3 separate regions of the Homo sapiens genome follow, and all the other regions are linked to region 3. The links are contacts of gene promoters, found by promoter capture Hi-C in human tissues and cell types (Jung and others, 2019). All regions are on one chromosome and are shown on one strand. The core of a region is centred on a gene start or on the middle of the fragment in contact, and the rest is flanking DNA. Distances in the headings are between cores, read along the strand shown.

Region 1 (2,954 bases), core at 410-2,909, 190 kb after region 3:
ATCCTCGTACGGCCATCCATGGTTATTGCCACACTCAGAGTCAGAGGCCTGGAGCACAGGAGCAGGTTTGCAACCAGCCAGACTCTCTTATTCCTAGCTGACAGCTCAAGAAGTTTGAGTCTTAAGGGGCTAGGGTACCCTAGGGCAGCAACACTAGTACTAGAACCTTCTCTGAAACCCTGGCTCGTTCCTCCCTCGTATTAAAATATATTCATTATTATTATTACTTTTGAGATAGGGTCTCACTGTGTCGTCCAGGCTGTAGTGCAGTGGTGCCATCATGGCTCTCTGTAGCCTTGAACCCTTGGGCTCAAGTGTTTGCCTGCCTCAGCCTCTGGAGTAGCTGGGACTAGAGGTGAGTGTCTACCACCATACCAGGGTAATTTTTTTGTGTGGGGGCGGGTAGAGATGAGGGGGTCTCACTATATTGCCCAGGCTGGTCTTGAACTCCTGGCCTCTAATAATCCTCTTGCCTCAGCCTCCCAAAGTGCTGGGATTACAGGTGTGAGCACTTATTCATTATTCATTATTACATTCATTATATTATTATAATGGCCCGGCCTGTATTCATTATATTTATCATAAAGTAATATTAATAGTACATAAAAATATATAAAAGTACTTAAAAATCCATCCTCGTGTTTTTTGTTTTGTTTTCTTTGAGACAGAGTCTCGTTCTGTCACCCAGGCTGGAGTGCAATGGCACGATCTCGGCTCACCGCAACCTCCGCCTTCCGGGTTCAAGTGATTCTCCTGCCTCAGCCTCCCGAGTAGCTGTAATTAACAGGCATGCACCACCACGCCTGCATAATTTTTGTATTTTTAGTAGAGACGGGGTTTCGCCATGTTGGCCAGGCAGGCCTCGAACTCCTGACCTCGTGATCCACCCAACTCGGCCTACCAAAGTGCTGGGATTACAGGCGTGAGCCACCGCGCCCGGCCGGTTTTTGTTTAAAAAAGAAAAGAAAAAAAAAAAAAAACACACAGACACACACAAAAACATCACCCCAATCCTTCCACCCTTGAACGCCACTTGAAGCCTAAGTTTCCTGCCTCCAAATTCCACTATTTCCACCCTCGACTCTCCTCCCCAGCTGTCCTAGATTCTGCTCCAGCTGAGCCTTGGCCCCGGGGCTGTTAGAAGGCAGAGGCTCTGGGGAGAAGTCCCCAAACCGGATTTACCCGTTCGTCGCACCTGTCCCTAGGAGGGCAGGCTGGGGTGTGGAGGCGGTGCCCTGCTGACCCGCGGGGAGAGAAGCCCGGGTCTCCCAGGCTGCAAAACGCTCGGCACTGCGGAAGCCGCGCCAGGCTCTCCCAGCTCGATACGCAGCGGCCGGCGCGCCTGCTCCGCCGCGGGGCCGAGCGGCAGAGGGGCCCGGGGCTGCGTGGAAGGCCCGGGGGCTTCAGCCCGTGCCGGGGAAGCCGACGCTCAGCCAACCAGAAAGTTAGAGGCGGCCGAGGTCTCGCGGAGGGGAGGCGCCTGGCGGCCACGGGAGAAGTCGAAGGGCTCAGGCGGGGCTCCATCCGCGACACTGGGAGCCCGGGCGGGCGCGCACGTGTGTATACGAGTGCGTGGGCCCATCCGGCGGCCCGGACTACAAGTTCCAGGGTGCCCAGCGGCGCTCCCGGGTTTTCTGGCCGCGCCTCCCGCTGGCTCCGAGCAGGTCGCCGCTGGCTGGCAGTCGCCACCCGGTCCCAGAGTAAATAAGGGAGAGACACTCCCGAGCGCCGTAAATAGAGTCCAAGTGGGCGGAGAGCCGTCCCGCGCCGCCCGCTCATGTCTCTACAGAGCCGACTGTCCGGCCGCCTGGCACAGCTGCGCGCGGCGGGGCAGCTGCTCGTCCCCCCGCGCCCCCGGCCCGGACACTTGGCGGGTGCCACGAGGACCCGCAGCAGCACGTGCGGTCCCCCGGCGTTCCTGGGCGTGTTCGGCCGCCGTGCGCGGACCTCGGCGGGAGTTGGGGCGTGGGGGGCGGCGGCGGTGGGGCGGACAGCCGGGGTGCGCACTTGGGCCCCCCTGGCCATGGCGGCGAAGGTGGACCTGAGCACCTCCACCGACTGGAAGGAGGCGAAATGTAAGTGTAAGCACGAGGGGGCGCGAGGGAGAGGGCGGCCTCACGTGGAGCTTCCCGGCTGGGCGGCCCCCAACGAGCGAGCAGCCCCTTCCACCCGAGAGACCTGGGGAAGTTGAGGCCCCATCTGCCCTGGAACGGACCCCTCCTCCCCATTGACAGCCCCCCCCGCCCCCGCGCGTGTTCCCAGCCCCACAGAACAATTCACTCCAGACCAGGTCCAAGTGTCCACGCAGGGGGCAGCGTGAGGAAGGCGGCCTTCCTTACCCCATTGGAATGGGTCACAGGGCACCCCAGAGATTGTGCAGGACCTACCAACTTCCTTCCCTGTGCAGGAGGGAAACTGAGGCCGAGTGCCACAGCTGGCTTCCCCAAGGTCACTCGGAGCTGGTGGCAAAGTGGAGGTTATGATCCCGGACTCTCCAAACTTTGCACAGTGTGGTTCTTAAGTGTTCGGGAATGGGGCTGAGGGAACAGCTCCGGGGCTGGCGTCCCACCTGGTGGGGCACGTAACCTCACAGAGTGACCTTCCTGGGCTGGCCTGTCCTGCCTCCACCCCACCCCAAGCCCGCACTCTGATGCCTTCCTGGGCACGTGGTCTGGCGCCCTTTTCCCCTTCTCGCTGGCCTCTGGCCACTTGTGAGCAGTTTGCTCATGCCAGGAACAGAGGTTAGAGGAGCAGGGCAGAGGTGGGGTCTTGTCCCTGTGACAACTGATGACACCCTTCAAGAATCACACCACTTCCTCTTGCTCCTGGAGGGGGCATGAGTCTGGGGCCTGGGGAGAGAGAGAACCCAAGCTGCCGCTACTGAGCCCCAAATAGCCCTGCCGGGCACCCAGCTGCCCCTGCCTTTCAGGGCCTGCCTCCTGGGATCCTGTGAC
Region 2 (3,033 bases), core at 472-2,971, 190 kb before region 3:
GGTGGGGTAGTGAGGCTCAGAGAAGTTAAATGGCTTCTCCAAGCGCAACGGCAAATGCACTTAGTTCTGAAAATTGTTTCCCAGCAATTTCCTTCCACCTAACAGATACACATCTGAAAGTTGTGAAAGAATTCATCATCGTGTCAGCTCCACAAACATGTATTAAAGGTGTACAAGGTTCCAGGCCCCATGCTGGGCCCTGGAGACCCAAGGTGAACCAGCAAGGAGGTTCGTCCAGTGGGGAGACGGATGTAAAAACCACTGCATCAGGGCTGATCATGCAATATCAGCCAACCCAACACACCACAAGACAAAGGCCAGAAACATAACTAGGAAGTACAGAGAAGAAAGAGCTGAGAGAAAGCACCGGTTTGAAAGGGTGTGGGGAGGTGAGGATGGGTGTTCCGGGAGCAAGAACAGCACATGCAAAGGCCCCAAGGCCAGACCAGGAAAGATGGGGGAGGAGGGTCTGATTACTAGGAGAATGTCTCAGGTGGATGAAAATGTAAGGTGGGCTCAGATGAGACAGGGCTACAGAGAGGAGAACCAGGAAGAGGCTTTTCCTGGCCTGAACGGGGCACAGACTGTGGAGATGGTGAGGAGAATGTGAATTCAATACATTTTAAAGAGGTGGGGAACAGGCACAGTGGCTCACGCCTGTAATCCCAGCACTTTGGGAGGCCAAGGCAGGCAGATCTCTTGAGGCCAGGAGTTCAAGACCAGCCTGGCCAACATGGTGAAACCCCATCTCTACTAAAAATACAAAAATTAGCTGGGCATGGTAGCACTCGCCTGTCCCAGCTACTTGGGAGGCTGTGGCAGGAGAATTGCTTGAATCTGGGAAGTGGAGGTTGCAGTGAGCCCTGATCGTGCCACTGCACTCCAGCCCAGAGGTGGATGGGCAGGGACTGCCTAGAGTGCCTCATGGTCCTAGCAAAGTCTCACCGGCTCTTGTGGCGATCTCAATGGCATGCACAGAGTTCCAGAACTTCAGAGCATCTCTTTTTGGTAAGGGGGCAGCATCCTGACCTCCACCCGCCGAAGCACACGCCTGTCCTGGTCACATGCTGGATTAACCTGTAAGCCTATTAACTATGGCTCAGCATCCTTCGCTACCTTGAAAGGAGCCCCAGAGCTCCCTGGTTAGGGAGACAGTTCCCAGCATGGTCCCGAGGATGGCCACATCTGACCTGGCCCTGAGCCACTGTCATGGGCAGCAGGGCATGACTCTCCAGTTGCCTGGAGACTTTACCTTGACCCTGAGTGACCTGAGAGAGCCAAGCCCGATGGCAGCAGTGACTGCTGCTGAGTCATCTGGCCCCCAAGACACCCAAGGGTCCCTGGGCACCCACCCTGTGTTAGCTTCCTGCGGAGGTCTCACTCAGTGCTCACGAGGACCCTACTACAAGCTCTGAAGCCCCAGGGCTGTGTGGACGGCTACAGAACATCATCTGACCCAGGCCTCCCCCAAGAACAGAGCCAATCCCCAAAATTCTGAAGAGAGGTCTTCCCTGACCAAGTCCACAGCTGCTGGGTTGTGTCCTGTCCAGGCAAAGCCACCTCCCAGCACTTTTCCTCTGGAGCAGCATGAAGGGCAGTGGGGGACCTGCAGCCCAGGCTGACCTGCAAACCGGCCTCCAGCCTGCCCCTGGGCCTGGGGTTGGGACAGGGCCTCTTTCAGAGGCCTCCGGAGCAGCAGTTCCTGGTGGGTTCCCACAGGTGCCCCCAGCACCCACAGGACAGCATCAGGACATGGCAGGAAGCTGGGGCTTCCCTCTACCCTTGCTACTCAAAGTGTGGTCCATGGACCAGCAGCATCAATGTCACTTGTGAGTTCTTTAGAAAGGCAGAATCTCAGATCCCAACCCAGACCTCCAGAATCAGAATCTGCATTTACTAAGAGCCCCAAGTGATCTGTGTGCCCACTGAAGTTTAAGACGCCCTGGCCTTGACCATTCTCCACAGCCACGACTATTCCACACCTTCTATCTCCTCGGAAGGGGTTTCCAAGAGGGACTTTATGTTTATTTCCATGGCAGCCTCTCCGTCGAAATATAAGCTCCTTGCAGATGGGAACGCATATCACTAAACCCCTTGGTGCCTGAGCCCTGCCTGCACACTGGAGGTGCCTACTCAGTGCTTGCTGAATAAGCGAGGGGATGTGTGTCACCATGCAGGCTGGCAGCGCGCCATGGCCAAGTCCATTCCTATCCTCTGCATCATCAGGCAATGGAGCAAGGAACGGAGTGGCACGTGAGAGCAAACAGACGTGCCGCCCCTGCCACAGCGCACTAGGATTTGTTCTTTGCGCAGACAACTGGAGAGGCAGAAGCCTGGGGGCATACGTTCTCCCCAGCCCCCCTTCCCACTCTTCCTGACATATGCGCCCTTGCCCTGGCGGCAGGTAGACTTCAGACCCTTCTCTTCATTGGTCTCAACCTAGCTACAGACTGAGTTCACTCAGCCACTTCTTTGCCAACTAAGGATCCTGCCCTTAAGGAACCTACTGGGTGACATCGCCCAAGAGGTGCAAGAACCCGAAGCTCTGGGTCACACAGGTCTCCTGGGTCAAACAGCTCTCTGTTTTCCCAGGGACATGGAGGGGCTCACGGTTCAGGATGGCTAGTGGGGCACTCATTTACCTCCTCCAACCAAATCCAAGTGGATCCAGAAAGGAAATAGTTTGGCAGTCCCAGAGCAGCATGGGAAAGGTGAGAAATGGAAAACTAGGGAAAGAATCTGCATAAGACATAAAGATCATGGGACAGATGGACAATGAAACCTCAGACCAAGGGACCTGCACCACATGCAGGAGGGAAAGGAGGCCCAAACACCTGAGCCTTCCTAGGAGGACAGCACTAGGTGAGAGGCTGCAGTGTGGGCACAGGCCAAGAACATCTGGGTAATTAACAGCATCAGGGTGAGCAGATTGACTGTGCCCCACCCTCCCTCCACCAAACACCACTTGGCATTGAATTCCATGTTTGCCTGGAGGTCAAGGTGCAAGAACAGCTAAATGGAGTTCTGAAACTG
Region 3 (3,042 bases), core at 441-2,940:
AGGAAGTTCTGTGAACGCAGCCCCGAGTTCCCTGAAAGAGGAAAGCCCCTTCGAGGAGGTGCCAGGGGAGGGGACCCCACCAGGCAACGTTGAGGCTTCCTGCAAGGGGTCCAGGGGAAGCAGCTCCAATTCCCACCCAGCTCACCACTGGCCCCCCAGGAAGCCCAGGGGGAAGCCTGAGGCTGCCCTGCGTGCAGATTCCTTCCAAGGCACAGACCCAGTTTCCATAGCAACAGCCTGCGGCCAGGTCTTCACCCACCTTGTGCAGGTGTTCCAGGGCCAGCACGATCTCACCCCCATACACGCGCACCTCAGCCTCCTTGAAGTACTGGCGCTGGTAGAGGTGGGTGAACATCTCCCCGCCGCTCACATAGTCTGGGAGGTGCAGTGGAAGTCAGGAAGCAGCCCCGTCAGGTGGCCTCGCCTGCCCCCAGCCACCCCAACCCCGTTGGGATGTGGTGTGCGCTCACCCAGGATGAGGTGCAGCTTGGCATCCGTCTGGAAAGCGTAGTGCAGCGTGACCAGGAAGGGCGCCTGGCGCACCAGCTCCAGCACCGAGCGCTCGGTGCGCGTGTGCTCTTGCGTCTTGGCGCGCTGCACCAGCGCCGCCTTGCGCAGCACCTTCATGGCGTACAGCTTCCCCGCGTCGTGCCCGCCCGCCTTCCGCACCAGGAACACCTTGCCGTAGGCTGTGGGAGCAGCGAGTGGGTGGAGGGTGGGCTGTGAGCGGGAGATTGGTGCAGGCTTGGGGGGTGGGGGCGATGCCAACCCAGGAGGGTGTGCAAATGAGGCGAAGGAGCTGGGGCAACAGGCAGGTGTGCAAAAAGCTGGCAGAGCCTTCTAAGGAAAGGGTGTGCACACCCCGGGAGGGTGCCCAGCAAAACCAGGGAAAGGATGTGCAAACCAGGCTGGGGAGCATGCATCTCCAGGGGGCCTGCTGCGAGGCATGGGGGCGGGGCATATGCAAACCTGCGAGAGATCAGATGGATGTGAAAAGATGCCAGTGCAAGGAAGGGAGGCAGAGGTGTGCACCTGGCTGGGGAAGGGATGCGCAAACCAGCGCTGGGGCATTTGCAAAATGTGGGAGGGGGATCCCATATTGGAAGAAAGGGAGGAGCTATGCAAATCACTTGAGAGGGGCGCCAGTCCCCCTCCCCAGGGTGTTGGCAAATCCAGGGGGGTATGCACGCACAGGACCGTGGAGGGAGGAGTGATGTCAATGTGGAGTGCCCTGGAAGTGGGCATGCAAACTCTGGCGAGGCAGGGCGGGGCAGGCAAGGCAGGCTGTGCCGGGAAAGGGTGGGGGGCCTGCTCAGTGGCCTGGCCCAGGCCCAAGAGTGAGCAGGCAGGAGGTCAGGGGCACCGCGCCTGGGACGCCTGCCCGGTGGATGGGGGTCCTCACCTCCCGTGCCCAGCACCTTGAGCAGCTCGAAGTTCTCCACGCTCACCTTCTCCTCGTGCCCGGTCAGGTTGGCTGTGGGCACAGGGGGCGAATGAGCCCAGCCGGTCCATGACCCGTCCCGGCCTGCCCCGGGCAGCCGCAGTCAGGCCCCACACCCACCTTCTGTGATCCGCAGCTCCACGGCGCAGCTCTCATCGTCGTCCTCGTCCCCCATGGCGGGCGGGTCGCTGGGGCCCGCGCGGCTCGGGCTCCGGGCGGCGCCGGTTACATGGCGGCTCCGGCCGGGGCGGGCGCTTCCTGGTGCCGCCTCCGGGGCCGAGGCGGGCGCCGGCACCGCCTCCCGGCTCCCCGCCCTGCGCGGCCTGAGTCAGGCGGCTGGAACGTGACAGCGCCGGGCTGCCGGTGGGCGGCCGGCTGGGGCCGCCCTGTCTCCCGAGCCCCCAGGCCAGGCCTCAGGGCCGTGCGCTCCGGGACCTTACTCGACTCTCCCGGGAACTGGAAACACCCCGTGGGAGCCATCCCTGAGCCCGTGGGTAACCTGGAGCCTCTGGGGCATTAGTCCCCAAGCCAGGAATCTGCCCGGGAATGCCGGCTGCAGCCAGTGGCTGGAGGACATTAGGAGTCTGTGCCCCAAGGTGGGGGACGAGGTGCCTGGTGCTGGGCAGGCTGAGAGGGGGTCTGGATCCTGGAAGTCACCCAACTCTCAGGCAGTGGAGCCCACCCCACTCCATCGTCCTGGGGGTGGCCAGCAGGGCCCCTCTCCCCAGAGGACTGGCCTTTGCAAGGAGGAGCCTCATCACCAAGAGGGGGCTGGAGCCCGGCCTGGGACCCCATGGCAAGGAGAGGAGTGGCCAGTTTTCTGACCAGCTTTCTGTCGGGGGTGCCTGCAGAAGCACTTCAGCCCCCAGTCACCGTGCAGAGCCCACCAGGTGCCATGCGCACCTCACGTGTTCTGCTCCTGTTGTCTCCTAGCCTGGTGCAGTACCCAGCTTAGAGCCCTGAGCAGGCCTCAAGAAGAGATGTCAGTGCCACACGGGGCTGCCCCCTCTCCCCATGAGGCCCAGGGCCCCTGCTGACTGGTCCTCCTGAGCCCCTGCTCCGTCTTCTTCCTGCCTTTCCCTTCCTGACCACCAATGGGGCCACCTAGCAGAGTGGGACAGCCATGAGGCCCCACACCCTGAGGCCGGTGGGAGGGGCTCTCAGCTCCTCTGCCAGCTGGAGAGGCCAGGGTGTCCACCCCACGCCCCTGTCCTGTGAAGCCCTGGCTGAGAGGAGGAGGAACTCAAGCTGCTGCAGGTCACACCTGGGAGGCCGGACGGACCGTCCCTCCCAGCTCTGCACCCCCCAAGTTCAGGCTGCCTTATCTCAGCCCTGGGCAGCTCCACCCTCCCCTGGGTGGCCCCAGGTACCCTGACTCACATCCTGCACCCCAGCCGAATTGCCCCGCCTCTCAGGCATCAGGCTAGAGGCCCTGGTCAGAGAGCCAGCGTCCCTCCCACCTCTCCTGGCAACCCCTGGCATTAAGTGATGCCCCGCCAGGCTGAGAACTCCCTGGGGAGGGGGCTCAACCTCAAGGAGGGAGGGGAGATGAGTAGGAGGAGGATGTGAACAGAGAGAAGACAGTGCCCTGGGAGAGGGTG

The links. The method cuts DNA at HindIII sites, captures the fragments that hold promoters and counts their contacts. A contact is called where the count stands out against the background at its distance.
Region 1: the fragment with the promoter of MACROD1 here is called in contact with the fragment with the promoter of RPS6KA4 in region 3 in 1 of the 25 tissues and cell types used here (spleen).
Region 2: a fragment that was not itself captured here is called in contact with the fragment with the promoter of RPS6KA4 in region 3 in 1 of the 25 tissues and cell types used here (dorsolateral prefrontal cortex).

What each region holds. Positions count from the first base shown.
Region 1 is chr11:64,164,818-64,167,771 of GRCh38, reverse strand. MACROD1 (mono-ADP ribosylhydrolase 1) reads left to right here and starts at 1,659. Exons shown (of 11, transcript NM_014067.4): 1 at 1,659-2,075. The coding sequence starts at 1,778. It overlaps LOC105369339 (a long non-coding RNA gene), which reads right to left and starts at 1,534. Exons shown (of 3, transcript XR_950187.3): 1 at 1,183-1,534. RefSeq lists silencers at 1,273-1,532, 1,793-1,872, 2,003-2,102 and an enhancer at 1,640-2,140. The HindIII fragment of the contact is 20,905 bases long and covers 1-2,954 here.
Region 2 is chr11:64,544,998-64,548,030 of GRCh38, reverse strand. No RefSeq gene overlaps it. Among named protein-coding and RNA genes, the nearest start is that of SLC22A11, 9.4 kb to the left of the region's middle. The HindIII fragment of the contact is 7,372 bases long and covers 1-3,033 here.
Region 3 is chr11:64,357,810-64,360,851 of GRCh38, reverse strand. It overlaps RPS6KA4 (ribosomal protein S6 kinase A4), which reads right to left and starts at 1,690. Exons shown (of 17, transcript NM_003942.3): 1 at 1,562-1,690; 2 at 1,403-1,474; 3 at 471-689; 4 at 260-375. The coding sequence starts at 1,616. RefSeq lists enhancers at 295-404, 1,138-1,665 and a silencer at 1,415-1,904. The HindIII fragment of the contact is 21,233 bases long and covers 1-3,042 here.